Linked DNA regions of Homo sapiens: regions 1, 2 and 3 are each linked to region 4. The links are contacts of gene promoters, found by promoter capture Hi-C in human tissues and cell types (Jung and others, 2019). All regions are on one chromosome and are shown on one strand. The core of a region is centred on a gene start or on the middle of the fragment in contact, and the rest is flanking DNA. Distances in the headings are between cores, read along the strand shown.

What was found. Contacts are between HindIII fragments. The study calls those that stand out against the background at their distance.
Region 1: a fragment that was not itself captured here is called in contact with the fragment with the promoter of GSDMB in region 4 in 1 of the 25 tissues and cell types used here (dorsolateral prefrontal cortex).
Region 2: a fragment that was not itself captured here is called in contact with the fragment with the promoter of GSDMB in region 4 in 1 of the 25 tissues and cell types used here (spleen).
Region 3: a contact is called between a fragment that was not itself captured here and the fragment with the promoter of GSDMB in region 4, in 1 of the 25 tissues and cell types used here (spleen).

The regions. Positions count from the first base shown.
Region 1 is chr17:39,440,665-39,447,457 of GRCh38, reverse strand. It overlaps MED1 (mediator complex subunit 1), which reads left to right. Exons shown (of 17, transcript NM_004774.4): 3 at 3,830-3,908; 4 at 6,781-6,793. Among named protein-coding and RNA genes, the nearest start is that of MED1, 7.2 kb to the left of the region's middle. The HindIII fragment of the contact is 4,288 bases long and covers 1-3,596 here.
Region 2 is chr17:40,195,089-40,202,070 of GRCh38, reverse strand. RAPGEFL1 (Rap guanine nucleotide exchange factor like 1) reads right to left here. Exons shown (of 15, transcript NM_016339.6): 15 at 6,421-6,982. Among named protein-coding and RNA genes, the nearest start is that of MIR6867, 5.0 kb to the right of the region's middle. The HindIII fragment of the contact is 6,151 bases long and covers 399-6,549 here.
Region 3 is chr17:40,299,738-40,306,926 of GRCh38, reverse strand. CDC6 (cell division cycle 6) reads right to left here. Exons shown (of 12, transcript NM_001254.4): 10 at 5,897-6,099; 11 at 5,319-5,459; 12 at 2,270-5,015. The coding sequence ends at 4,926. Among named protein-coding and RNA genes, the nearest start is that of RARA, 5.8 kb to the left of the region's middle. The HindIII fragment of the contact is 4,009 bases long and covers 2,732-6,740 here.
Region 4 is chr17:39,917,259-39,924,046 of GRCh38, reverse strand. It overlaps GSDMB (gasdermin B), which reads left to right and starts at 5,412. Exons shown (of 11, transcript NM_001165958.2): 1 at 5,412-5,513; 2 at 6,717-6,788. The coding sequence starts at 6,731. ORMDL3 (ORMDL sphingolipid biosynthesis regulator 3) reads left to right here. Exons shown (of 4, transcript NM_139280.4): 2 at 1-17; 3 at 784-935; 4 at 1,362-3,004. The coding sequence ends at 1,497. RefSeq lists an enhancer at 1-716, a cis regulatory region at 5,146-5,159 and promoters at 5,138-5,500, 6,224-6,632, 6,183-6,788. The HindIII fragment of the contact is 12,682 bases long and covers 2,032-6,788 here.

The sequences.
Region 1 (6,793 bases), core at 203-2,702, 470 kb after region 4:
TATTTAATAATATATTTAATACTTTTGTGTGTGAAACTAAGTTTTTTTTTGTTTTTTTTTTTTATTGAGACGGAGTTTCACTCTTGTTGCCCAGGCTGGGTTGTAATAGCCCGATCTCGGCTCACTGCAACCTCTGCCTCCCAGGTTCAAGTGATTCTTCTGCCTCAGCCTCCCGAATAGCTGGGATTACAGGCATGCGCCACCACGCCCAGCTAATTTTTATATTATTTGTAGAGACGGGGTTTCTCCATGTTGGTCAGGCTGGTCTTGACCTCCAGACCTCAGGTGATCCACCTGCCTTCGCCTCCCAAAGTGCTGGGATTACAGGCGTGAGCCACCGCGTCCAGCCGTTTTGACTGCATTTTGACTATGACCCTGTTATGTGAGGTCAGGTGTGAAATCCTTGGTGGCATCATTGGGAATGCTAAAAAGGTTTTGGATTTGGGAGCATTTCAGATTTTTGATTTTCAGATTAGGTATGCCCAGCCTGTACTAGTAGAATTTTTGATTCATTCTTTTTTTTGAGACCAGGTCTTATCATCCAGGCTCAAGTGCAGTGGCGCGATCATGGCTCACTGCAGCTTCAACTTCCCAGGCTCAGGTGGTTCTCCCACCTCAGCCTCCTAGTATCTGGAACAACAGGTGCATGTAACCATGTCCAGCTAGTTTTTTTTTTTTTTTCTTTGAGATGGAGTCTTGCTCTGTGGCCAGGCTGGAGTGCAATGGTGCGATCTCGGCTCACTGCAACCTCTGCCTCTTAGGTTCAAGAGATTCCCCTGCGTCAGCCTCCCGAGTAGCCGGGACTACAGGCACACGCCACCACGCCTGGCTAATTTTTTGTATTTTAGTAGAGATGGGGTTTCACCATGTTGGTCAGGATGGTCTCCATCTCCTGACCTCGTGATCTGCCTCCCAAAGTGCTGGGATTACAGGCGTGAGCCACTGTGCCCGGCTGCCCAGCTAGTTTTTTATATTTTTTGTAGAAATCGTTTTTTTTTTTTTTTTTTTGAGATGGAGTGTCGCTTTGTCACCCAGGCTGGAGTGCAGTGGTGCGATCTCGGCTCACTGCAAGCTTTGCCTCCCGGGTTCATGCCGTTCTCCTGCCTCAGCCTCCCGAGTAGCTGGGACTACAGGCCCCTGCCACTATTCCCGGCTAACTTTTTGTATTTTTAGTAGAGACGGGGTTTCACCGTGTTAGCCAGGATGGTCTCGATCTCCTGACCTCGTGATCCACCCGTCTCGGCCTCTCAAAGTGCTGGGATTACAGGCGTAGCCACTGCGCTTAGCCAGAAATAGGTTTTTACTCTGTGGCTCAGGCTGGTCTCAAACTTGTGGGCTCAAGTGATCCACCCACTTTGGCCTCCCAAAGTGTTAGGATTACAGTGTGAGCCACCGTGCCTGGCGGATTCATTTTTTTTTTTTTTTTTTAAAGATGGAATCTCTGTCTGTCACCTAGGCTGGAGTGCAGTGGTGGGATCTTGGCTCACTGCATCCTCCGCCTCCTGGGTTCAAGCGATTCTCCTGCCCCAGCCTCCTGAGTAGCTGGTATTACAGGCATCCGCCACCATGCCCAGTTAATTTTTGTATTTTTAGTAGAGATGGGGTTTCACCATGTTAGCCAGGCTGGTCTTGAACTCCTGACCTTGTGATCCACCTGCCTCAGCCTCCCAAAGTGCTGTGATTACGGGTGTGAGCCCCTGTGCCTGGCCCAGGTTGTCATTTTTATTCCTTAAGGCAACCAAATTCTAGCTTGAAATATGTTCTGTAAATGATACTGTCATTAGAGAGACATTGTGAGATAGAAGGATTCCAGGTGGCTAATAAGGCCCTCTCTTTGGGTACCACTCTCTTGGTTTGGTCACCATGACTTTGCTTGTCTACTTTTCAGTTTTGCAGATTCAGAAACCTAATTTTATTGGTACATCAAGATTTTATAGAGTTTTCATGGCTGGGCGTGGTGGTTCACATCTGTAATCCCAGCACTTTGGGAGGCTGAGGCGGGTCGATCACCTGAGGTCAGGAGTTCGAGACCAGGCTGACCAACAAGGTAAAACCCTGTCTCTACTAAAAAGACAAAATTAGCTGGGCATAGTGGCAGGCGCCTGTAGTCCCAGCTACTCGGGAGGCTGAGACAGCAGAACCGCTTGAACCCGGGAGGTGGAGGTTGCAGTGAGCCAAGATCATGCTACTGCACTCCAGTCTGGGCATCGGAGCGAGACTCCATCTCAAAAAAAAAAAAAGAGTTTTCAACAACTGACATACTGTATGCTTATTTATTAATTTATGACAAAACATTTAGTTTTCCAGTTTTCATAATACTGGTATTCATTGACCAGAGCACCTCTTCTCCTGTCAAGAATCAAGAGATTTCAGATTATTAATAAATTACTTTGTTTTGTAAGGGAGAATTAGAGCAGTGAGATAGATTTATTTGCAACATGGAAAAGCCTGGAAAACTATCCTTATACCAGAAAACTGTTCACGTTTTTAGGGACTGGAATGTTTTTCAGAGAGAAACTTCTTCACTGGATAGGGTTAGGAAAACTAGGCTAAGTTTTTTTTTGTTTGTTTGTTTGTTTTGTTTTGTTTGAGATGGAGTCTCACTCTGTCACCAAGGTTGGAGTGCAATGGTGTGGTCTTGGCTCACTGCAACCTCTGCATCCCCGGGTCAAGCGATTCTCCTGCCTCAGCCTCCTGAGTAGCTGGGACTACAGGCGCGTACCACCACACCTGGCTAATTTTTGTATTTTTAGTAGAGATGGGGTTTCACTATGTTGGCCAGGCTGGTCTCGAACTCCTGACCTCATGATCTGCTCGCCTTGGCCTCCCAAAGTGCTGGGATTACAGGCGTGAGCCACTGCAACCGGCCTCAAACTAGGCTAAGTTTTTGTTCTTTGGAAGTCCCTTTTCTGGACTACATGTTCTGTTTCTTTTCTTTTTCTTTTTTTTTTTGAGACAGAGTCTCTCTCTGTCGCCAGGCTGGAGTGCAGTGGTGTGATCTCGGCTCACTGCAACCTCCGCCTCCTGGGTTCAAGTGATTCTCCTGCCTCAGCCTGCTGAGTAGCTGGGACTATAGGCGTGCACCACCACGCCCAGATAATTTTTGTATTTTTAGTAGAGACGGGGTTTCACCATTTTGGCCAGGATGGTCTCAGTCTCTTGACCTCGTGATCCACCCGCCTTGACCTCCCAAAGTGCTGGGATTACAGGTGTGAGCCACCGCACCCAGCCTATATGTTCTGTTTTTTAGAGTCAATCTCATTTTCTTAAAATTTGGTTGTGTTTCTCAGATTACATGCAAATCACCTTGTTAAATTTGTACACTACCAAATCTCCTGAGCCATCTTATTTAACTGTTTATATCTTAGCATGTGGTCACTTCCACAGGCGGCAGATCTCATGTATTACATTTTGATTCTTCCTAATATTTCTCTAAAGGTTTTTTTGTTTTAGATGTGGAAATACAACGTTTTCTTTTTTGTTTTTGACTAAATAGAAACAGGATCTCTCTATCTTGCCTTGGCTGGTCTCGAACTCCTGGACTCAAGTGATTATTCAGCTTTGGCCTCTCAGTGTGCTAGAATTACAGGCATGAGCCACGTGCCTGGCTGAGGAATACCTTTTTCTACACTCATATATATGGATTTTGCATGGATGGACAGAGTAACACTTGTAGACCAGTGTTACTCTATATAGTCTACAAAATCTATAGACTATATTGAGTCTATAGACTGTCCTGCAATATTACTACTAGGATAATGTGTATGTTTACCTAAAACACTGTTGGCCTGGTTAATTTTCACCTCAAATGTTTTCCCACTTGACACAGGAGAAGAGGGTTGTGATGAGTTCTGGAGGGCATCAACATTTGGTCAGCTGTTTGGAGACATTGCAGAAGGCTCTCAAAGGTTTGTGAACACTTTTGAAATATGCTGATTTCACAAAACCCCCAGTTCAAGAAGGACCATTTTATACTTAAACTAGAAGTAAAAAATTGAGGTAGGTCAACTTTATGTATTAGATATTGCTCTTGCATTCATTTATGGAGTTGGAATGATCTTTTTGCTAAAGTTTGAAACATTTATTTTTGATCCTGTTTTGGAGGCTGATAGAGATTTAAAAGATAAATGATGAAGGGTAATATAAGATACCTGGGGAGGCTGGGTGCGGTGGCTCGCTCCTGTAATCCCAGCACTTTGGGAGGCTGAGGTGGGCGGATCACAAGGTCAGGAGTTTGAGACCAGCCTGGCCAACATGGTGAAACCCTGTCTCTACTAAAAATACAAAAATTAGCTGGACGTGGTGGCGGGCACCTATAATCCCAGCTTCTCGGGAGGCTGAGGCAGGAGAACAGTGTGACCTGGGGAGGCGGAGGTTGCAGTGAGCCAAAATCACGCCATTACACTCCAGCCTGGGCAACAGGGCAAGACTTGTCTCAAAAAAAAAAAAAAAAAAAAAAAAGATACCTGGGAAAAGTTTTTTTTCCCTTCACATTTATTTCTGATTAATCTCGATAAGAAGATGGACTTTTTTTTTTTTTTTTTTTTTTTTTGAGATGGAGTTTCACTCTTGTTGCTCTGGCTGGAGTGCAGTGGTGGAATCTCGGCTCACCACAACCTCTGCCTCCTGGGTTCAAGCGATTCTCCTGCCTCAGCCTCCCAAGTAGCTGGGATTACAGGCATGTGCCACCATGCCCGGGTAATTTTATATTTTTAGTAGAGACAGGGTTTTCCATGTTGGTCAGGCTGGTCTCGATCTCTTGACCTCAGGTGATCTGCCCACCTTGGCCTCCCAAAGTTCTGGGATCACAGGCGCGAGCCACAGCAACTCGCGAAGTTTTTTTTTTTTTTTTTTTTTTTCCGAGACGGTGTCTCACTCTGTCACCCAGGCTGGAGTGCAGTGGCACAATCTTGGCTCACTGCAACCTCCACCTCCTGGGTTCAAGCGATTCTCCTGGCTCAGCCTCCCAAGCAGCTGGGACTACAGGCGCGTCCCACCACGCCTGGCTAATGTTTTGTATTTTTAGTAGAGATGGGGTTTCACCGTGTTAGCCAGGATAGTATAGATCTCCTGACCTCGTGATCCACCCGCCTCGGCCTCCCAAATTGCTGGGATTACAGGCGTGAGCTACCATGCCTGTCCAGAAGATGGACATTTTAACTCTAAAAAGATTTTTACGGTGTTTATGGAGCAAATTTCCAGGAAAGCAAATGTAAAATATAAGTCATGAGCTTGATTATTCATGCTTATAATGACTAATTCTATTTTTGGGGAATAATGAAAGTAAAAACAGATTTTACTGTGATCCACCAGAAATGAACCTAATTCAGCTGAGGGTTTTTTTTTTTTTTTCTGGAGACAGTGTCTCACTCTGTCGTCCAGGCTGGAGTGCAGTGGCACGATCTCTGCTCACTGCAACCTCCGTTTCCCGGATTCAAGTGATTGTTCTGCCTCAGCCTCCTGAGTAACTGGGATTACAGGCGCCCATTACCATGCTCAGCTAATTTTTGGATTTTTAGTAGAGATGGGGTTTCACCATGTTGGCCAGGGTGGTCTTGGACTCCTGACCTCAGGTGATCTGCCTGCCTTGGCCTCCCAAAGTGTTGGGATTACAGGCGTGAGCCACTTTGCCCAGTCTCAGCTGAGTATTATCTTCTTTACCTTTTTTTGTTTTCTTTTTCTTTGAGACAGAGTGTCGCTGTGTCACCCAGGCTGGAGTGCAGTGGCACGATCTCTGCTCACTGCAACCACTGCGCCCCCACCGGGTTCAAGAGATTCTCTTGCCTCAGCCTCCCGAGAGGGTGGGATTATAGGCGCGCACCACCACACCTGGCTAATTTTTGTATTTTTATTAGAGACAGGGTTTCACCACGTTGGTCAGGCTGGTCTTGAACCCCTGACCTTGTGATCCGCATGCCTCGGTCTCCGAAAGTGTTAGGATTACAGGCGTCAGCCACCGCACGAGGCCTTTTTTTCTGTTTTAATTGTGGTAAAATATAGGTAACAAAATTTACCATTTTCTTTGTTTCTAAGTGTATAGTTCAGTAGCGTTAAGTACATTCATATTATTGTATAATCATCACCACTGTCCATCTGTAAAACTTCACTCATCTTCCCAAGCTTACATTCTGTAATGTCCCATTCCCGCCTTCCCCCAGTCCCTGGCAGCCACCATTCTGCTTCCTGTCTTTATGAATTTGACTACTCTGTATACCTGATATAAGTGGAATCATATATTTGTCCTTTTGTGACTGGCTTATTTCACTAAACGTAATGTCTTCAAGGTTCATCTATTTTGAAGCATTTATTAGAATTTCTTTCTTTTTTAAGGTTGAAAAATACTCCTCTTTATGTATATACATTTCATTTATCCATTCATCTGCTAGTGGACACTTGGATTGTTTTAACCTTTTGACTGTTGTGATTAATGGTGTTGTTAATGTTGAGTTTTTTTTAATGTTAGTTTTAATGTTAATCTTCCTTATTCTATCATTAGCAGATAAATGTGTCTTAAGTTAAAGGCAGTTTGTCCCACATAAGGAGTAATGAAAACAGGAGAGGAGAAAGGTTCGGTAATTTTTCAAATAGATCTTTTTTTTTTGACCTTTAGTACTGCATAGGCCACAGCTAACCCTAATCAGTGAACTTTATGTAAATTACAAGCATTTGAACTACTGAATATGTTTACGGTTTTGGAAGGATGAATCTTTCTGTCTTAAAAGAATATCATTTAAGTCATTTGGAGCATTCTTTGTGACTCCTTTTTTCATCCTTTTATAGTAACATCTTTACC
Region 2 (6,982 bases), core at 2,225-4,724, 280 kb before region 4:
TACCCCAAGAAAGGCACTATCCTCCTCTGGGTTATGTAGCCTCCTCCCTCATCCCCAGGCAGGTTGAGAAAACAATCTTGGTGGTGACACCTAGTGGATTCAAAGGGCACTGCCTAAATTCTTCACTGCACGCAGCACACCTCATGAAGACACCTTATTTATTTATTTTTTGAGACAGAGTCTCGCTCTGTCACCCAGGCTGGAGTGCAGTGTTGGGATCTCGGCTCACTGCAACCTCCGCCTCCTGGGTTCAACTGATTCTCCTGCCTCAGCCTCCCGAGTATCTGGGACTACAGGTGACCGCCACCACACCCAACTAATTTTTGTATTTTTAGTAGAGGCAGGCTTTCACCATGTTGGCTAGGCTGGTCTTGAACTCCTGACCTCAAGTGATCTGCCTGCCTCAGCCTCCCAAAGTCCTGGGATTATAGGTGTGAGCCACCATGCCTGGCCAGGAAGGGAGAATTTTTTATTTTAAATCTGTTATTAAAAACAGTGGACTGTCAGAATCTGAATTGCTTTATGGTGTAATGTAGCTACGGTAACACTTAACAAATTTTACATGACCAACTCAACAAGCCAGATAGACACACTTGTATACCCACCCCCAGGTCACGATATGGAACATTTCTTTTATTTATTTATTTATTTATTCCTCACTCTGTTGCCCAGGCTGGAGTGCAGTGGCCCGATCTCAGCTCAGTGCAACCTCAGCTCACTGCAACCTCCACCTCCCGGGTTCAAGTGATTCTCCTGCCTCAGCCTCCCGCACCTCGACCTCCCAGAGTTCTGGGATTACAGGCGAGAGCCACCGCGCCTGGCCGATATGGAACATTTCTATCGCCCCACAGGGCTTCTTCATGCCCCTTCACGGTCAATACTTTCCCCTACCCTATTGAGTAGGCACTATTTTTACTTCTTTTTTTTTTTTTTTTTTTGAGACGGAGTCTTGTTCTGTCGCCCAGGCTGGAGTGCAGTGGCATGATCTCGGCTCACTGCAAGCTCCACCTCCCGGGTTCACGTCATTCTCCTGCTTCAGCCTCCCGAGTTGCTGGGACTACAGGCGCCCGCCACCAGACCCGGCTAATTTTTTTTGTGTTTTTAGTAGAGACGGGGTTTCACCGTGTTAGCCAGGATGGTCTCGATTTCCTGTCCTCGTGATTCGCCCGCCTCAGCCTCCCAAAGTGCTGGGATTACAGGCATGAGCCACCGTGCCCAGCCTATTTTTACTTCTATCCCCGTAGATTAATTTAGCCTGCTCTTGAACTTTTTTTTTTTTTTTTTGAGATGGAGTCTGGCTCTGTTGCCCAGGCTGGAGTGCAGTGGTGCCATCCCAGCTCACCACAACCTCCGCCTCCCAGGTTCAAGCGATTCTCCTGCCTCAGCCTCCCTAGTAGCTGGGATTACAGGCATGCGCCACCATACCCAGTTAATTTTGTGTTTTTAGTAGAGACAGGGTTTCTCCGTCTTGGTCAGGCTGGCCTTGAACTCCCAATCTCAGGTGATCCACTCGCGTTGGCCTCCCAAAGTGCTGGGATTACAGGTGTGAGCCACCGTGCCCGGCCTAAATTTTTTTTTTTTTTTGAGATGGAGTCTCGCTCTGTCGTCCAGGCTGGAGTGCAGTGGCACCATCTCGGCTCACTGCAAGGTCCCCCTCCCGGTTTCACGCCATTCTCCTGCCTCAGCCTCCGGAGTAGCTGGGACTACAGGCGCCCACCACCACGCCGGGCTACTTTTTTGTATTTTTAGTAGAGACGGGGTTTCACCCTGGTAGCCAGGATGGTCTCGATCTCCTGACCTCGTGATCCGCCCGCCTCCGCCTCCCAAAGTGCTGGGATTACAGGCGTGAGCCACCGCGCCCAGCCTTTTTTTTCTTTAGACTGAGTCTTGTTCTGTCGCTGTCGCCGGGCTGGAGTGCAGTGGCGCAATCTCAGCTCACTCCAAACTCTCCCTCCCGGGTTCAAGCGATTCCCCTGCCTCAGCCTCCCAAGTAGCTGGGATTACAGGCGCACGCCACCACACCCAGCTAATTTTTTTGTATTTTAGTAGAAACAGGATTTCACCATGTTGGCCAAGATGGTCTCACTCTCCTAACCTCGTGATCCACCCGCCTCGGCCTCCCAAAGTGCTGGGATTACAGGCGTGAGCCACCGTGCCCGGCCTTTTTTTCTTTTTCTTTTTTTTTTTTAAGAGAAAGAGTCTCACTCTGTCACCCAGGCTGGAGTACAGTGGTGCAATCATAGCTCTCTGCAGCCTTGAACTCCTGGGCTTAAACAATCCTTCCACCTCAGCCTCCTGAGTAGCTGGGACTACACACATGCACCACTATGCTTGGCTTTTTTTTTTTCTTTTTTTGAGACACGGTCTCCCTCTTTCGCCCATGCTGGAATACAGTGGCATGATCTCTGCTCACTGCAGCCTTGAGCTCCCAGGCTCAAGCAATCCTCCCACCCCAGCTTACCAAGTAGCTGAGACTACAGGAATGCACCACCATATATGGCTTTTTTTTTTTTTTTTTTTGAGACGGAGTCTCACTCTGTCGCCCAGGCTGGAGTGCAGTAGCACGATCTCGGCTCACTGCAACCTCTGCCTCCCGGGTTCAAGCAATTATCTGCCTCAGCCTTCTGAGTAGCTGGGATTACATAGGTGCCTGCCACCATGCCCAGCTCACTTTTGTATTTTTTAGTAGACATGGTGTTTCACCATCTTGGCCAGGCTGGTCTTGCACTCCTGACCTCGTGATCCATAGGTCTCAGCCTCCCAAAGTGTTGGGATTACAGGCGTGAGCCACCCTGCCCAGCCTTTTTTTTTTTTTTGAGATGGAGTTTTGCTCTTGTTACCCAGGCTGGAGTGCAATGGCACGCTCTCAGCTCACCACAACCTCTGCCTCCCAGGTTCAAGCGATTCTCCTGCCTCAGCCTCCCGAGTAGCTGGGATTACAGGCATGTGCCACCACGCCCAGCTAATTTTGTATTTTTAGTGGAGACAGTTTCTCCATGCTGGTCAGCTGGTCTCAAACTTCCGACCTCAGGTGATCCACCCACCTCGGCCTCCCAAATGCTGGGATTACAGGCATGAGCCACCGCACCTGGCCTATTTTTTTATTTTTTTGTAGAGACAAGGTCTCCCTATGTTGCCTGAGCTGGTCTCAAACTCCTGGACTCAAGGGATTCTCCTGCCTCAACCTCCCAAAGTGCTGGGATTACAGGCGCGACACACCATGCCCAGCTACATTTTTTATTTTTTGTAGAGATAGGGGTCTCACTATGTTGGCCAGGCTGGTCTTGAACTCCTGGGCTTAAGAGATCCTCCTGTGTCCAGAACTGGTTCCTTCCAGTGGGTTCTTAGTCTTGCTGACTTCAAGAATGAAGCTTCAAGAATGATGCCACAGACCCTCACGGTGAGTGTTAGCTCTTAAAGATGGTGTGTCCGGAGTTTGTTCCTTCAGGTGTTCAGATGTGTCCAGTTTCTTCCTTCTGGTGGGTTCGTCCTCTCCCTGACTTCAGGAATGAAGCCACAGACCTTCAGCAGTGAGTGTTACAGCTCTTAAAGGTGGCGCTTCTGGAGTTGTTTGTTCCTCCCAGTGGGTTCGTAGTCTCGCTGGCTTCAAGAGTGAAGCTGCAGACCTTTGTGGTAAGTGCTACAGCTCATATAGTGCGGACCAAAAGAGTGAGCAGCAGCAAGATTTATTGCAAAGAGCAAAAGAACAAAGCTCCCACAGCGTGGAAGGGGACCCCAGTGGGTTGCCGCTACTGGCTCGGGTGGCCTGGCCCCACCCACATCCTGCTGATTGGTCCATTTTACAGAGCGCTGATTGGTCCATTTTACAGAATGCTGATTAGTCCGTTTTACAGAGTGCTGATTGGTTCGTTTTTACAGAGTGCTGATTGGTGCATTTACAAACCTTTAGCTAGACACAGAGCACTGATTGCTGCATTTACAAACCTTTAGCTAGACACAGAGCACTGATTGGTGCATTTACAAACCTTTAGCTAGACACACAGCGCTGATTGGTGCTTTTACAATCCTTTAGCTAGACAGAAAAGTTCTCCAAGTCCCCTACCTGATTAGCTAGACACAGAGCACTGATTGGTGCATTTACAATCCTTTAGCTAGACAGAAAACTTCTCCAAGTCCCCACCTGACCCAGAAGCCCAGCCAGCTTCACCTCTCACTCCTACTTCAGGCCCCCAAAGTGCTGGGATTAGAGGTGTGAGCCAACATACCCAGCCTGTGTCTGGCTTCCTTTATTCAACATTAAGTCTGTGAGATTCATTCACGTGGGTATTAATAATTTGTTCTTTTTTCTTGCTATATAGTATTCCACCATAAGAATATGCCCCAATGCATTTGTCCATTCATGTGTTGAAAGACACTGGGTTTTTTTCCTTCCTTCCTTCCTTCCTTCTTTCCTTCCTCCCTCCCTCTCTCCCTCCCTCTGTCCCTCCCTCCCTCCTTCCCTTGCTCTCCTTTCTTTTTTTTTTTTTTTTTAAACAGGGTCTCACTCTGTTGCTCAGGCTATAGTACAGTGGTGCTATCGCAGCTCACTGCAGCCTCGTTAATTTTTTATTTTTTGTAGAGACAGGGTCTCACTATGTTGCCCAAGCTGGTCTTGAACTCCTGGGCTCAAGCGATCCTCCTGCCTCAGCCTCCCGAAGTGCTAGGATTATGGGCTTGAGCCACCATGCCCAGCGTGATTGGTGTTTCTGAAAGAACACCCTGGCTGCCATGTGGAAATCAAACTGGTGGCAGGTAGGGGTGGATCAAAGAGAGGAAGCTGACAGACCAGGTAGGAGGCTGCAGTAGTCATGCAGGGAAGCTATGAAGGTGGTTTGGACTAGTATGGTCATAGGGGAGTCATACAGAAGTGGATCACTCAGAAAATGCTCTGGAATTGTAGCCGATGGGACTGGCTGAGATGAATGAAGGGTGGGAGAAAGAGGCACCAATGGTGAGTCCTGTATTTTTGCCTTGAAAACTTGGGTAGGTGGCTGGGCAGTGGCTCACAGCTGTAATCCCAGCACTTTGGAAGACTGAGGTGGGTGGATCACTTGAGGTCAGGAGTTTGAGACCAACCTGACCAACATGGTGAAACCCCATCTCTACTAAAAATACAAAAATTAGCCGGGTGTGGTGGCCTCTGCCTATAATCCCAGCTACTCAGGAGGCTGAGGCAGGAGGATCACTTGAACCTGGGAGGCAGAGGTTGCAGTGAGCCAAGATTACGCCACTGCACTCCAGCTTGGGCAACAGAGAGAGAAAACCTGGGTGGATGAGAGGATCATTTTTCTGAGATGCAGAAGACTGAGGCAGAAACAGATGTGAATGGGGATTATCAAGGGCCCAGGTATAGCTATTTGAGTGTATGATGTCTCCTGGAACTCAGGCTATCATTTAAGCCTAACGCTAGGCTCTCTGCACCCTATAATCTTAGTAGGATTGGGCCAGGCGCAGTGGCTCAAGCCTGTAATCCCAGCACTTTGGGAGGCCGAGGTGGGCAGATCACGAGGTCAGGAGATCCAGACCATCCTGGCTAACACAGTGAAACCTCATCTCTACTAAAAATATTAAAAAAAAAATTAGCCCGGCATGGTGGTGGGCACCTGTAGTCCCAGCTACTTGGGAGGCTGAGGCAGGAGAATGGCATGAACCTGGGAGGCAGAGCTTGCAGTGAGCAGACATCACGCCACTGCACTCCAGCCTGGGCAACAGAGCAAGACTCCGTCTCAAAAAAAACAAAACAAAACAAAACTTAGTAGAACTGGTAAATATTGGTTGTGTGAACAGTACATGCTGTCTTCAGGGGACAGACCTGGGTTAGGGGACCAGTGCCCTCACTAGTAATTATTCTGGGACTGCTGTGCCTCAATCTTCTACCTTAGCATTAGAATTAAATGTGATCTCATATTTATGCCACCTGGAACATGTATGAACGAAAACATCCCATCCCCTCTTCTGAGTTCCAGGCATTATGTGACATGTCTTGTGAGGTTGGCATCTTTTCCTCTCATCCACATTTTCTTTTTTGGCAGAGTCTTGCTCTGTTGCCCAGGCTGGAGAGCCACTGCGCCTTGCAACCTCCGCCTCCTGAGTTCAAGCTACTCTCCTGACTCAGCCTCCCAAGTAGCTGGGATTACAGGCATGCACCACCACACCTGGCTAATTTTTGTATTTTTAGTAGAGACAGGGTTTCACCATGTTGGCCAGGCTGGTCTCGAACTCCCGCCCTCAGGTGATCTGCCCGCCTCGGCCTCCCAAAGTGCTGGGATTACAAGCATGAGCCACTGTACCCCGCCACCCACATTTTCAAAGTCACTCCAGAACAGCCCTGCTCCTGACAGCACTGGGCGGCCATCCCCTCTCCCCTCCCTCAGCACTTCCACAGCCTCAAAGAAAACAGAATGGAGAACAACAGGCAGGTTGATTCATAGACTTTATCGGCTTCTTCTCCACCCAGCGGTTTCTGCAATGACAACCGCGCCTGTACAATACACATGGTTCACTCTGTTAAAGCTGCAGGGCAACGGGAGGGGGCTGGGGGTCCCTGGGCAGGCATCAAGGCTAGGGGTAAGCAGCAGCCAAGACTGGGCCAGTGGGTCCCAGTGTCCGACCCAGAGGGTGGTGGCAGCTGGAGTTCCAAGGCTGTTGGAAGGGGTCAGGAGGAAGGCTGGGAAGCCAGGGGCTGCAGGGAGAGGAGAGTGCATCAGCAGTAGCAGGGAGGGGGCAGGGAGCAGAAGGGGGCCCATGGGACACTGTCAGGGCAAGAGGGCATGGGACACAGCACCTCCTATGTCCATAGAGGATTTTTGCTGCAGGAACAAGACAGATCACTGTATAAAAGGGTCTGTACAACATTACCTATGATACAATGTTCACATATGATACAAGGCTCTTTCCCTCTTTGAGTTTTAAAAAATAAATGTACAATTCCAGAGCTTTGGGTAAAAAATATATACACCCTCATAGCAGGAGCAGCAGCTGC
Region 3 (7,189 bases), core at 3,487-5,986, 380 kb before region 4:
CACTACCAGTGCCTTGGGGCTGGGGTTGAAAATCAAGGGGAGGCCAGAGGGCACACCTTCTCCCCTTACGGAACACACCTCTTCTAAGAGGAAGACCTGCACTGTTTGTAGCTTAAGAGAAGGTATCTTAGAAAGTACCTTATCTTTTCAGGAAGAACCTGAGATCACAACTTGCCCCAAGTTAAAAAGAGGGACATCAAAGGTGGGCTCCTCCCTAAACCCTTGCCTACAGACCCAGCTTCTGGCCAATCTAGCCACACTGAGTGACATCCAGACAGGCAGCCCTCTTCACAGCCTGTAGATAAGACTCTTCCCCTCATAGCCAAAGCGTCCCACCAGCAACATGGAAGTTGCCTCAAGCAAAATGCCACTACATCAGAGGGAGTGATTGGAATGCATCTGTGAGGCTAATAAATGCTCCAAAACTGTGCCAAGACACATTTTGTAAGACAGAGCACCCTTCTTATGCAGGGGCCTGCTCCACCTCTGTGCAAAAGTACCACCAACGTTTACCTTCAGCTTAGAACTGTTCTCACCACTGAGGGAAAGGCAGTATCTTATTTGGTTCACTTATCTGTTAAACAACTATTGAGTACCTACCAGGTATTAGGCACTATACTAATTGCTAGGCACAGATACAAATGTAAATAAAATTTCAATCTTGGATCTCTTTTGTCCTCCCTCAGCAGTCAAGGTAACACGTCTCAAGATATTTAAAAAATATATAACCGGCCAGGCATGGTGGCTCAAGCCTCTAATCCCAGCACTTTGGGAGGCCGAGGCGGGCGGATCACGAGGTCAAGAGATCGAGATCATCCTGGCTAACACAGTGAAACCCCATCTTTACTAAAAATACAAAAAAATTAGCCGGGCATGGTGGCGGGTGCCTGTAATCCCAGCTACTCAGGATGAGGCAGGAGAATGGTGTGAACCCGGGAGGCGGAGCTTGCAGTGAACAGAGATCGCGCCACTGCTCCAGCCTGGGTGACAGAGCAAGACACCATCTAAAAAAAAAATATATATATATATATATATAAATAATATGTATATAATATATAATATGTATATTATATATAATATACATTATATATATAAAATATATATAATATGTATATAATATATATATAAAACCTAAATCACATCTTATTCCCAACTTCTCATTCTTATTGGTGTATCTGCTTTCTGTCTTTTATAGAGACAGGGTCTCGCTCTGTCACCCAGGATGTAATGCAGTGGTGTGATCATAGCCCATGCCGAGTTGAACTCCTGGGCTCAAAGCATCCTCCCATCTCAGCTTCCCAAGTAGCTAGGACTACAGGTGCATGCCACCATGCCCAGCTGATTTTTAAGATTTTTTTGGTAGAGAAGGGTAAGGGGGTCTCACTATATTGCCCAAGCTGGTCTCAAGCTCCTGACTTCAAGTAATCCTCCCGCTGCTGCCTCCTCCCAAAGTGTTGGCATTACAGGCATGAGCCACCACACCTGGCTTGATGTATATTCAAAGGGACACTTAGTAAAGGTAGGGAGCAATGCAAAAGAGGGGGCGCAGAGAGAATAAGGCTCTGCCAACTTTTTGATCTCTGGGTAGCTTAGACCTCACACATTTTTTTTTTTTTTTTGAGACAGAGTCTCACTCTGTCACCCAGGCTGGAGTACAGTGGCATGATCTCATCTCACTGCAACCTCCACCTCCCAGGCTCAAGCAATTCTCCTGTCTCAGCCTCCCAAGTAGCTGTGATTATAGGTGTGTACCATGGCACCCAGTGAATTTTTGTACTTTTAGTAGAGACAGGGTTTCGCCATGTTGGCCAGACTGGTCTTGCACTCCTGACCCTTAAGTGATCAGCCCGCCTTGGCCCCACAAAGTGCTGGGATTACAGGCATGAGCCATCACACCCAGCATTTTTTTTTTTCCTTTTTGAGACAGTCTCATTCTGCTGCCCAAGCTGGAGTGCAATGGCACGATCTCGGCTCACTGCAACCTCTGCCTCCCAGGTTGAAGCGATTCTCCTGCCTCAGCCTCCCAGTAGCTGGAATTACAGGAACACACCACAATGCCTGGCTAATTTATTTTAGTAGAGACAGGGTTTCGCCATGTTGGCCAGACTGGTCTCAAACTCCTGACCTCAGGTGATCCGCCCGCCTCGGCCTCCCAAAGTGCTGGATTACAGGCGTGAGCCACCACCCCCAGCCTGGACCTCACACATTCTTGCAGAGTTAGCTAGCCACAGGCAAGTCTCCATTGAGCCAGAAACATCTGTGGCAGCTCTGGGGTTGAAACACACAATTTATTTTGTCTATGCTCTTTCCATGGCAACACCCAACACTCTATGGAAGCTTAATCAGCTTCCTTGGGGTGGGGGAGAGAGATAAACCAGGATATAGACACACACTCCATCACCTTCAAAAGGAAGAATGTAGGTCAGCATCTTTGCCACTACTCTAAGTGAAGCAGCCTATGATCCTGGCAAAAACTGCTAACCACAAGCCCATCCCATCCCATCCCACTAAAACTCCTACCACCTTCCTGAAGCTCTCAGCTTCAGGGAGAAAAGCCAGCAAGGAAAGGGCTTTCTTCCTCAGCAGTCTGAATTACACTTAAGACTTTACTGACAAACATATATCAGCTTTTGCTCCCACAAGGGCAGCAGAAGCCAAGCAGGGACACTAAGTCTGCTTCATGCATCATTGACAGAACCAACCCTGTTCCAACTGCTAAAGTCTTAAGAGCAGCAATGACCTAGAAATTGACAGTGAGGGGAGAAGAAAAGGAAACTAACAAATCAGTAGACAGAAAACTCTATTTCCAAAACCAGGGGAAAGGGAAAGATAGAGGGGAAAGAAATTTGGCCCCTTTGAATCTACCAATGTGATTTTGGCTGGAAGCCAGGGAGGATACATAGCAGCCCCACTGCGAGTCAAGCCATGTTCCTGACTCAAGCCCTACAGTTAAGAGGAAGGCGCCAAGCCTCAAACACAATGAGGTGGGGAGGCTGCTCCTTATTGGGCAGGATCCTACTGTGGACACAGAACAGACAGCAGCTGCCCACAGTGTGGAAACAAACTGTAAAGCAGTCACGTCTCTTAAGGCTGCAGCATCCAATAAAATGTAATTTAAATCAAGCTTCGCATCTGTTCTCAATCCCATTCAGTCTCTGCTTTCCATCAGCCTTCGGACAATCTTTGCAATTATGCATGTTAACCCTTATAGTCCCAGACACTTTCCAACCTTCTAGGTATAGAACTGTGTTTCCATGTTCAAACTACCTTCAGAGGGAACGAATACTCTAGTAAAGGAGTGTGAGAACAACATTCAGACTCATGCCTACAGACTATCATGTGCTACACACACCAGTGGGTAGTGTTCATTTCAGAGGGCTCTCTCTGCTTTCCTTGCCTCTATCCCATACCACCTGTTGTAGCTCAGATCACATTACACGGATACAGTGGTCAGGATGAATGAAACAGTGGCCAACAGATCACTTGTACACATATCAAGTTCCAAATGGAAGGCCATGTCAGAAAGGTAGAGGCGGCAGCAGGAGAGCTCAGGGAAAAGCAGACTTGGTCACTGGCTCTCAGATCATTCGTATCACACATGGTTTACATTTCAAGCATTTGCTTCAGTTATGAAAGGACAGCAATCTCCCAAACAAATCAAACTAGAACTTCCCCCTTTCCCTCAAAACTACCTCAGCCTCAAGCATCCCCTTTCAAAGTAGTCAATGTTATAAGGGTGCCCTCTGGTGTCTCAGTCACAAATTGCCATTTAATGCCACCAAACCAAACCCAGAAGGCTCTTGATTAACCAACCATATGGACTAATTTATCTAATAAGACTGGAAAAATGTGTTTAGATGAAAACCCAACCCCAAAGTAGTCATCTTGAAACAAGTGGCTTCATCTAAGGGCAGCAAAGACTGTGGGACAGCCTAGGAAGGAATTTTCACATTGACTTCTGAAAGCTTGAGCTCTCTTGAAATCTGATTGCTTAAAAAGACAAAGAATGCAACTTGAAAATAAATATATTCACAATCTGTAGAGTTATAGTCTCCTTATGACCCCAACGCCCTTGGGAGTGCCCAAGAAACTCAACGAGTCTAAAATGCCACAATGTTGTAGTATCTGCACCATGAACATAGTATACTATACAAAGAAATAAATTCTTTAACCAGTGTCCTCCAAATCTCCATGTGGACTTGCTTGCATTTTTCTGGATCATTTTCATTCTTCTTACCCTAAACTTAAAGTTCTTAACAAAATACCTTAATGGCTGAGCATGGTGGCTCACGCCTATAATCCCAGCACTTAGGGAGGCCAAGGTGGGCAGATCACTTGAGGGTCAGGAGTTCAAGACCAGCCTGGCCAACATGGTAAAACCCTGTCTCTACTAAAAATTAAAAAATTAGCTGGGCGCGGTGGTGGGCACCTGTAATCCCAGCTACTCGGGAGGCTGAGGCAAGAGAATCACTTCAACCTGGGAAGCGGGTGCTGTAGTGAGCAGAGAACGCGCCATTGCACTCCAGCCTGGGCAACAGGGTGAGACGCGCCTCAAAAACAACAACAACAAAAAAAACAAACAAAAAAATACCCACTCATGTTTGAGCAAACGAAGAGGTAAATATACACACATTCCTCTACACAGATCTGTACACTTGCAAGCACATTGGCTAGAGATACACAAGTGGTAGAAGTAGTGAATGTAATTAAAAAGGGTCTACCTGGTCACTTTTATGGGTAAAAATAGTAAGACCCAAAGATATTATTCTGTGCTAATATTAAAGAATCTATAGATTAAAATTCATTGGCTTCAAGTAAAAAAGGTCATATTTGTTTTCAGGCCCGAATGTGTAAAGCACTAAAATGAAGACTGTAGCTCTCTAAATGCCAGCTGAATACTTTCGGGTGGGGTGTAAGAGAAGAATTTAAGGCAATCCAGTAGCTAAGATATTTCCAATTAAAGCTTTATCTTTCAGAGCATGTTCTATTTCTTTCTCTTCAATCTTGAAAAACACCTGGAAAGAAGAGAAAAGGATTTTTCACACTGGGGAACTCACAAAAGCAAAGTTGTCAGTATACAAACTTCTACCATATTAAACTTTTTCTCACAAAAGGCAAGCAAGTTAAACACTTTTTTTTCCAATGGCTTGAAAAAATATTCATATCACACTCCCATCTTTACACACCTTAAACCTTACCTAACAAAAAACGACTTGTTTAACTAACTGTGGTCATCTTGTTTAACAATAAACCTTTACTTTAGCATCACTCTACAAAATAGGACAATTAAAAACACTGTCACAAAAAAGCAGTTGTACCTTTGTCAAACGGGTTTCCTTGTTTCTCTTTAATCCTAAAATGCCCCTGGCTTCCAAGAGCCCTGAAAGTGACAAACACTCTGACTGGTCCACAGCCGCCACCTGCTGTTTGCGACAGACTTTACTGTAGGCTTCATATAACTGGTAGGAAACAAGGGAGAACAAACGCTGCTTAAAAGTCACATTGCTTATAGCCTTTAATCATTTAAGAAACCTGAGTCTGGGTTTGCAAAAACTTATCTGAATACCCTATTTCTTCCTCTTTTCAATAAAATCTTTGAACAGGCTTCTGTAGATATTCCCGAAAACCTATACAGTAATGTAGGAAAGGGGCTTTATATATTTCCTAGAGAGATGCAGAAATGAAGGGGAGGATAGGGAAAGGATTAATGATAAACTCTCAACCACAATCCAAGGGAAATAGGTGCCTTTTATATAGTACCAGTATTAATTCTTACTGTTAAAATCCATTTTAAATTTATTATCAGCTGAAGTATCATAGGCCTTTTGGAAAATACCTGCTCTGCAAAGCAGATTCTGATCTCTACCTCCGTTCCATCTGCTCCATCCCAACTTACCTTCCCCAGAGTGACCTCTTTGATTTTCAACTGCCTGATCAAGAGCATCAAAGAGCAAACCAAGATCTTCTGCTGAAGAGGGAAGGAATCTTGTGCTCCTTCTTGGCTCAAGGTCATCCTGTTACCATCAACTTCTGAGATGACTTGGGATATGTGAATAAGACCAACCCTCTTGGGAATCAGAGGCTCAGAAGGTGATTTACCTATAAAGTAAATAAGCCAAGCTTAATTCGATTTCTAAAATACTGTGTGTGTGTATGTATGATGAGACAGATGATACTAAGTTTGAGCTAAAGGAAATTCAAGTATAGTCACATGGTGGCAAAGCAGAGGTTTTAAATCTCTAACCAGAGGCCAAAGGATGAGAGATAATGCTATTCTCTTAAGGATGTCAAAATAATGTGGGATGACTTGAAAAGTAGGGTTACCCTTTCTCTGGGCCAAATAGTGAGCTGTTTTGTCCTATGGAATGTAATTTAATGTCAGAGGAACAAAACCCACCTCATGAAAGGACCAGAGAACTACTGTATTTTTTTTTGGGACAGGATCTCTGTCACTCAGGCTGGAGTACAGTGGCACTATCATGGCTCACTGCAGCCTTGGCTTCCTGGGTTCAAGTGATCCTCCTGCCTCAGCCTCCTGTGTAGCTAGGATTACAGGTACGTGCCACCATGCCAGGCTAGTTCCTAGTATCTCAGAGGTATAGAATAACAGAACCTTGAAGCAAAGATGGTGACTGTGCTTGGTAATTAAGAAAGGAAAAAAAAGGCCAGGTGCAGTGGCTCACGCCTGTAATCCCAGCACTTTGGGAGATCAAGGCGGGCAGATCACCTGAGGTCAGGAGTTGGAGACCAGCCTGCCCAACACGGCGAAACTCCATCTCTACTAAAAATACAAAAAATTAGCTGGATGTGGTGGCAGGCGCCTGTAATCCCAGCTACTTGGGAGGTTGAGGCAGAAGAATCACTTGAACCCGGGAGGCAGAGGTGCAGTGAGCCAAGATTGTGCCACTGCACTCCAGCCTGGACGACAAGAGTGAAACTCCATATAAAAAAAAAAGAAAGGGAAAAAAAAGTTGGAAAATTACCGAATATTTTGGATCAAATGAGTGGCTAAATGTGGAGAGTGAAGTCGCTGCCATGTCAGCCCTTCAGATGGCTTCCCCAAATGACCTTTGAGGTTTGGTTCACTTGCCCAAGCTGATTAGCAGTAGAGCAACACTTGAGAAAATGTCATTGGATATGCTAGCAGATAGCACCATCTTTTTTTTTTTTTTTTTCTTTTTGGTATTTT
Region 4 (6,788 bases), core at 4,163-6,662:
ACCTCATTCACAACATGGTGAGAGCCTGTCTGCTGCCTGCCCCTGCCCCTGCCCCTGCCCTGTGGGCTGCCCTTTGGCAGGGCTGAGGGATAGGAGGAGCCTGTCGGGCCTGGCCCAGGTGTCAGGGTGATGTACTGACGACATCTGCCTCCAGAGCCCAGGCCTAGCCCTTACCTCTCTGCCTTGCTCCCCCTTCTGGGTTCCTGCCCTGTGTACCATGACAGGAATCAAATCTGCAGATTTTTCCACATCTCTAGGGTGGGGTGGCTGTTGGCCTGGAAGATGTGCTCCTGAGAGCTGAACAAAGGGCTCCAGAGAGTTCCCAGGACCCGAGAGTCCTGGTGCCTAGGCTGATACAGAAATGCCCCTTTCTCAAGTTAGCTTCTCGAACCGTCTTCCACTTTTGCCCTTCTCTGCTCCCTCACCACTTGCTACCTTGCACTCTTTGTCGGGTAAGCAGGGCTTAGTCCCATCGCTTGCCTCCTCCCAACAGGCACAGGGGGCTATGAGTGGCCTGGAGGGGGGCAGCATCTCGGTGCCTATCTTGTGGCCAACTTCCACCGTGCATTCTCATGCCAGGCCTAGCCCGTCCCCCAGGGAGTCCCCTTGTTCTTCTCCTGCCATACTCCCAGCTGCTCCATCCTGACCTCCAGCCCATATCCCCCTGCCCAGCAGAGGGAGGCTCCAGATCACTGGGAGTTACTTGTGTCTGTGACTGGGTGGAGGAGCTGGGCAGGGGGGCCTTTCCCTTTTGTATCCTCTAACAAAGACTTCTTCCTCCAGGGCATGTATATCTTCCTGCACACGGTGAAGGGGACACCCTTTGAGACCCCGGACCAGGGCAAGGCGAGGCTGCTAACCCACTGGGAGCAGATGGATTATGGGGTCCAGTTCACGGCCTCTCGGAAGTTCTTGACCATCACACCCATCGTGCTGTGAGTGCCTGGGCTACAGGAAGACACCAGCAGGCAGGGCAAGGCCTGGAGGACCCCAGGGCCCAGCCATGCTTATTAACCCTGCCGTGGCTCCTGGTGTAGGGATGAACAGAGGAAGTTGGAATATTCCTGGGTCTTACACTGGACTCAGGCTTTGGGCCTCCCTGGCCCCATCTTTCCTCCATTGGAGCTTCCTTCCTGCTAGTGAGATAGGCCTACAGGCTTGGGGTGAAGCTGGGAGGTGGGGGCGGTACTGGGCCAGGAGGGGCCCCTTTAGCCTGAGAGCTCTTGCTTCTTACGCTGGTCTGGGAACCTCTTCTGTAACTCCTTAGCTGTTGGGATTCTGCCTTTCCCCTCCCAGGAAGTGAGGGAGGAAGGGGTCCTCCCAACAGTCTTTTATATCTCTCCCCACCCTTCCCCTCCCAGGTACTTCCTCACCAGCTTCTACACTAAGTACGACCAGATCCATTTTGTGCTCAACACCGTGTCCCTGATGAGCGTGCTTATCCCCAAGCTGCCCCAGCTCCACGGAGTCCGGATTTTTGGAATCAATAAGTACTGAGAGTGCAGCCCCTTCCCCTGCCCAGGGTGGCAGGGGAGGGGTAGGGTAAAAGGCATGTGCTGCAACACTGAAGACAGAAAGAAGAAGCCTCTGGACACTGCCAGAGATGGGGGTTGAGCCTCTGGCCTAATTTCCCCCCTCGCTTCCCCCAGTAGCCAACTTGGAGTAGCTTGTAGTGGGGTTGGGGTAGGCCCCCTGGGCTCTGACCTTTTCTGAATTTTTTGATCTTTTCCTTTTGCTTTTTGAATAGAGACTCCATGGAGTTGGTCATGGAATGGGCTGGGCTCCTGGGCTGAACATGGACCACGCAGTTGCGACAGGAGGCCAGGGGAAAAACCCCTGCTCACTTGTTTGCCCTCAGGCAGCCAAAGCACTTTAACCCCTGCATAGGGAGCAGAGGGCGGTACGGCTTCTGGATTGTTTCACTGTGATTCCTAGGTTTTTTCGATGCCACGCAGTGTGTGCTTTTGTGTATGGAAGCAAGTGTGGGATGGGTCTTTGCCTTTCTGGGTAGGGAGCTGTCTAATCCAAGTCCCAGGCTTTTGGCAGCTTCTCTGCAACCCACCGTGGGTCCTGGTTGGGAGTGGGGAGGGTCAGGTTGGGGAAAGATGGGGTAGAGTGTAGATGGCTTGGTTCCAGAGGTGAGGGGGCCAGGGCTGCTGCCATCCTGGCCTGGTGGAGGTTGGGGAGCTGTAGGAGAGCTAGTGAGTCGAGACTTAGAAGAATGGGGCCACATAGCAGCAGAGGACTGGTGTAAGGGAGGGAGGGGTAGGGACAGAAGCTAGACCCAATCTCCTTTGGGATGTGGGCAGGGAGGGAAGCAGGCTTGGAGGGTTAATTTACCCACAGAATGTGATAGTAATAGGGGAGGGAGGCTGCTGTGGGTTTAACTCCTGGGTTGGCTGTTGGGTAGACAGGTGGGGAAAAGGCCCGTGAGTCATTGTAAGCACAGGTCCAACTTGGCCCTGACTCCTGCGGGGGTATGGGGAAGCTGTGACAGAAACGATGGGTGCTGTGGTCCTCTGCAGGCCCTCACCCCTTAACTTCCTCATACAGACTGGCACTGGGCAGGGCCTCTCATGTGGCAGCCACATGTGGCGTTGTGAGGCCACCCCATGTGGGGTCTGTGGTGAGAGTCCTGTAGGATCCCTGCTCAAGCAGCACAGAGGAAGGGGCAAGACGTGGCCTGTAGGCACTGTCTCAGCCTGCAGAGAAGAAAGTGAGGCCGGGAGCCTGAGCCTGGGCTGGAGCCTTCTCCCCTCCCCAGTTGGACTAGGGGCAGTGTTAATTTTGAAAAGGTGTGGGTCCCTGTGTCCTCTTCCAGGGGTCCAAGGGAACGGGAGAGGTCACTGGGCCTGTTTTCTCCCTCCTGACCCTGCATCTCCCACCCCGTGTATCATAGGGAACTTTCACCTTAAAATCTTTCTAAGCAAAGTGTGAATAGGATTTTTACTCCCTTTGTACAGTATTCTGAGAAACGCAAATAAAAGGGCAACATGTTTCTGTTTCCCTGTGTCTGGCCTTCGCTTCCTGGAAGGCTGAGGGGAGGGGGCAGGGGTGTGGGCAGCGGCTCCCGCTGAGGTGCTGGTGGGGCATCAGTGCAGCTCTGACGGTGGCAGGAGGGGCGCTGGGACTGCTGGGCTTTCTGCTGGCTTCAGCAGGGAAATCCCCCAAGGGGGCTGTGAGGGAACTGGCGGCGGCAGCGGTAGTCAGAGAGCAAAATTCTCTGTGCTTTTGCCTGGCTGTTCTCCGACAGGTCTTGCGCCTTGGCCCCAGAGGCTGGGGTGACCTGTGCCATGGCCAAGGAGGGGGACACTCCAGCAATGGTTTACACGTGGAGCCAGGGTCCCAAGTGGTGCTCAGTCCTTCCCAGTGAATCCCCAGCCCTTCTCCAGTTTCTCACTTCTCTCCCCAAGGCCTTTCCCCAGTCACCTCTCCCTTGGGAGCGCTGCGTTTCCTTCTGGCCTTTCAGTGGAGGGGACTTTTCATACTTCCTCCTCCCACCATAAGCCTGAGTGGCAGGGGAAGAGGTTCTGGGGACTTTCTGAGGCCAACATGGCTAGGAGAGAGAGGAGTCCTATAGCAAGGAATCCTTATCTCACGAGGGCACTGACCTTCCAGCGTGTTCTGGGGAGTATCAGCTGCTATTCCCAGGAGAGGCACAAAGTCCCAGGTAGAAGGGAGGAGCTGTCCCCAGCAGCCTGGGGTCTCTAGCCCCGGTCCACCATCACAGCACCCTTGGAGTGAGTGTCAGGGAGTGTGGGATATTTGCCCAAGTCCAGCCACCACCCCTGTCCGAGTAGAGCCCACACAGTATTGGAAAGAGAAATATAGCCACTGCTTTCACTCCTGGGAGTAGGGGTGCCCTGGTTGCTTTCACCAGCCTGCAAGAGTATAGTCAGGGTGAGGTGCTGGAGAACATCAACAACGATCTGGGTTCAAATCCCAGCTTTGCCACTTATTAGCCATGTTGCTGTGTCAACTTCTCTGAGCTTCAGTTTATTCCACTGTTGTGTAAAGATAATGCCTCTTAGGGCTGTTGTGAGCATTAGCACAGTGCCTGGCATATAGTAAATACTCAATATATGGTAGCCATATTATTATAATTGTAATTGTTACTACCACCACTGTCGTCTATTTATTTATTTATTTATTTATTTTTTTGAGACTGAGTCTTGCTCTGTTGCCCAGGCTGGAGTGCAGTGGCACCATCTTGGCTCACTGCAACCTCCGCCTCCCAGGTTCAAGCAATTCTCATGCCTCAGCCTCCTGAGTAGCTGGGATTACAGGTGTGTGCCAAAACATCTGGCTAATTTTTTTTTTTTTTTTTTTTTTGGTAGAGACGGGGTTTCGCCATGTTGGCCAGGCTGGTCTTGAACTCCTGGCCTCAAGTGATCTGCCTGCTTCGGCCTCTGAAAGTGTTGGGATTACAGGCATGAACCACCACGCCTGGCCTGTCATCCCTTCAAATGTTCTTTCAGAACTGAGGCATGCAGAGGCTGGAAGACAGGCTGGGCTCACCGGGGTGGTTATCTCTGAGAGAGGACATGGGTGAGGTCAGAGGCCTCTCCCTGGAGAAGGAGGTAGGTGGAGAAGCCAGATGGCATCCAGATAAGGAAGACCAGCATCTCCTTGAGAGTGTACACGGGAGCACGAGATGGGGAGGGAGGCTGAGTGCTCCTTACAGGCCCACCCTGTTGCCTCCAGGTGTTAGCTGCTGTTGTCCTGGGTCTTCAGTGTTGACCGTCGCATGGCATTTGGGCAGCTGGTTCTGCTGGGTTATGGTCCTCATGTCCCTGGCACAGACACAGCCATTGCCTGCTGGCACTTGATACCTACTCATATTCCATTTCTCTATTCCAAACACACTGGATTGCATGGCCCAGGGCGCCACGGTGTGCACCATTGTCTGGCCCACACTCACCTAGAATACATACCAGGATCTCCTACCCACTCCTTAGGTACAAGAAGAAGAAGGGGTTCTGGCCGGGCATGGTGGCTCACACCTGTAATCCCAGCACTTTGAGAGGCCGAGGTGGGTGGGTCACAAGGTCAGGAGATTGAGACCATCCTGGCTAACACGGTGAAACCCCGTCTCTACTAAAAAACACACACAAAAAAATTAGCTGGGCGTGGTGGCAGGCACCTGTAGTCCCAGCTACTCGGGAGGCTGAGGCAGGAGAATGGCGTGAACTTGGGAGGCGGAGCTTGCAGTGAGCCGAGATTGCGCCATTGCACTCCAGCCTCGGCGATAGAGCAAGACTCCGTCTCAAAAAAAAAAAAAAAAGGGGGGTTCTGGCCTTAATCTGCCTCCAGCTCAGTTATAAGGTGGCTTATCTAAAGGCTTGGGAGGTGGGGCACCCAGCCCTACCCACCCGTCCAGGAAGTTCCACACCTGGACAACTTTCAGTTTCATTATTTTAGCTTCCTGAGATTCAGAGGCCAGGAACTGTGCAGAGATCTGTGGGGATTCTCACAACTTCCATTTCTGGTGAACAGCTGAGGTCAGAGAGGAGGTGGGTACCACTTGAGATGGGCCTGTGGTTCCCGGGTACTGTCTTTCCAGACACCTAGAATTCCCAGGTTGGTAGTGAACTGAGAGTCAACCACCATGATGGGGCCAGAGACAGAGGAGGAAGCAGTGAGTGGATAAGTGCCTGTGCTGGGCAGAAGGGATATAGGGGAAGGTGGCCAAAGGTAGGATGGGGAAGTGGATCCCAGGAAGCTTTTGTTTCTTCTGAGGCCAATTTACCACCACCTCATTGGGAAATTGTTGGTAGGGAGGCACCCATCCAATTGCCTTGCAGAATACAGCAAGGCAGGGAGCCCAAGAATCAGAGCCAAGGGAAGAAACGACCAGTTGAGGTTAGTAATGTGAAGTCTGGCAACCGTGCCCGTCATTCCTCCCTGGTTCCTCTGTTCATCAACGTTGGGGCTAGTCTGGCTGGGGCATGGTGGGCCTGCCTTTCCATCCCTTGGGCCCCTTGGAACAAGGGGGCAACTCTGCTGTGGGAGATGTAGAAAATGGGTCTCACTTTCTCTATTTGGGGCAATAGCTGCTACTTTTTTCCTCCAGATGGGTACCATGAGGGGCAGAGGAGAATCTGGGATCTGTGATGTTTAGCCCTCTTTACTGAGTCATGGCTGCCTCACGTTCTAGAAGTAAGGCAGGCAAATCATTCCAGGTACTGATTGTCCTGGAACCTTTGGCTCTTCCTTGACCTCATGTCACGTGCGTCCATGTGAAGAGAGTCCACGAAACGGGCTTTATATGAGCAACAAGGCTGGGTGCAGGCAAGCTGAGTCCAAAAAAGGGGTCAGCAAAGGGTGGTGGCATTATCATTAGTTCTTATATGTTTGGGATAGGCTTACAAAGTACATTCTCAAGGGTGGAGAAATATTACAAAGTACCTTCTTAAGGGCAGGGGAGAATATTACAAAGTACCTTCTTAAGGGCGGCGGCGGGGAGACTATATTGTATCAGGGTGGGGCAGGAACAAATCACAATGGTGGAATGTCATCAGTTAAGGCTATTTTCATTTCTTTTGTGGATCTTCAGTTGCTTCAGGCCATCTGGATGTATACATGCAGGTCACAGGGAATATGATGGCTTAGCTTGGGTTCAGAGGCCTGACACCTCAGGCTGCCAAATGTGGAAGATTTAAATACTTGAACCAATACCCTCCTCCCAAAAACTGAAATTGGCTTCTGTTTCTGAGTTGGTCCAGGCGCAATGTTCAGCGTATTTGAGGAAATCACAAGAATTGTAGTTAAGGAGATGGATGCTGGAG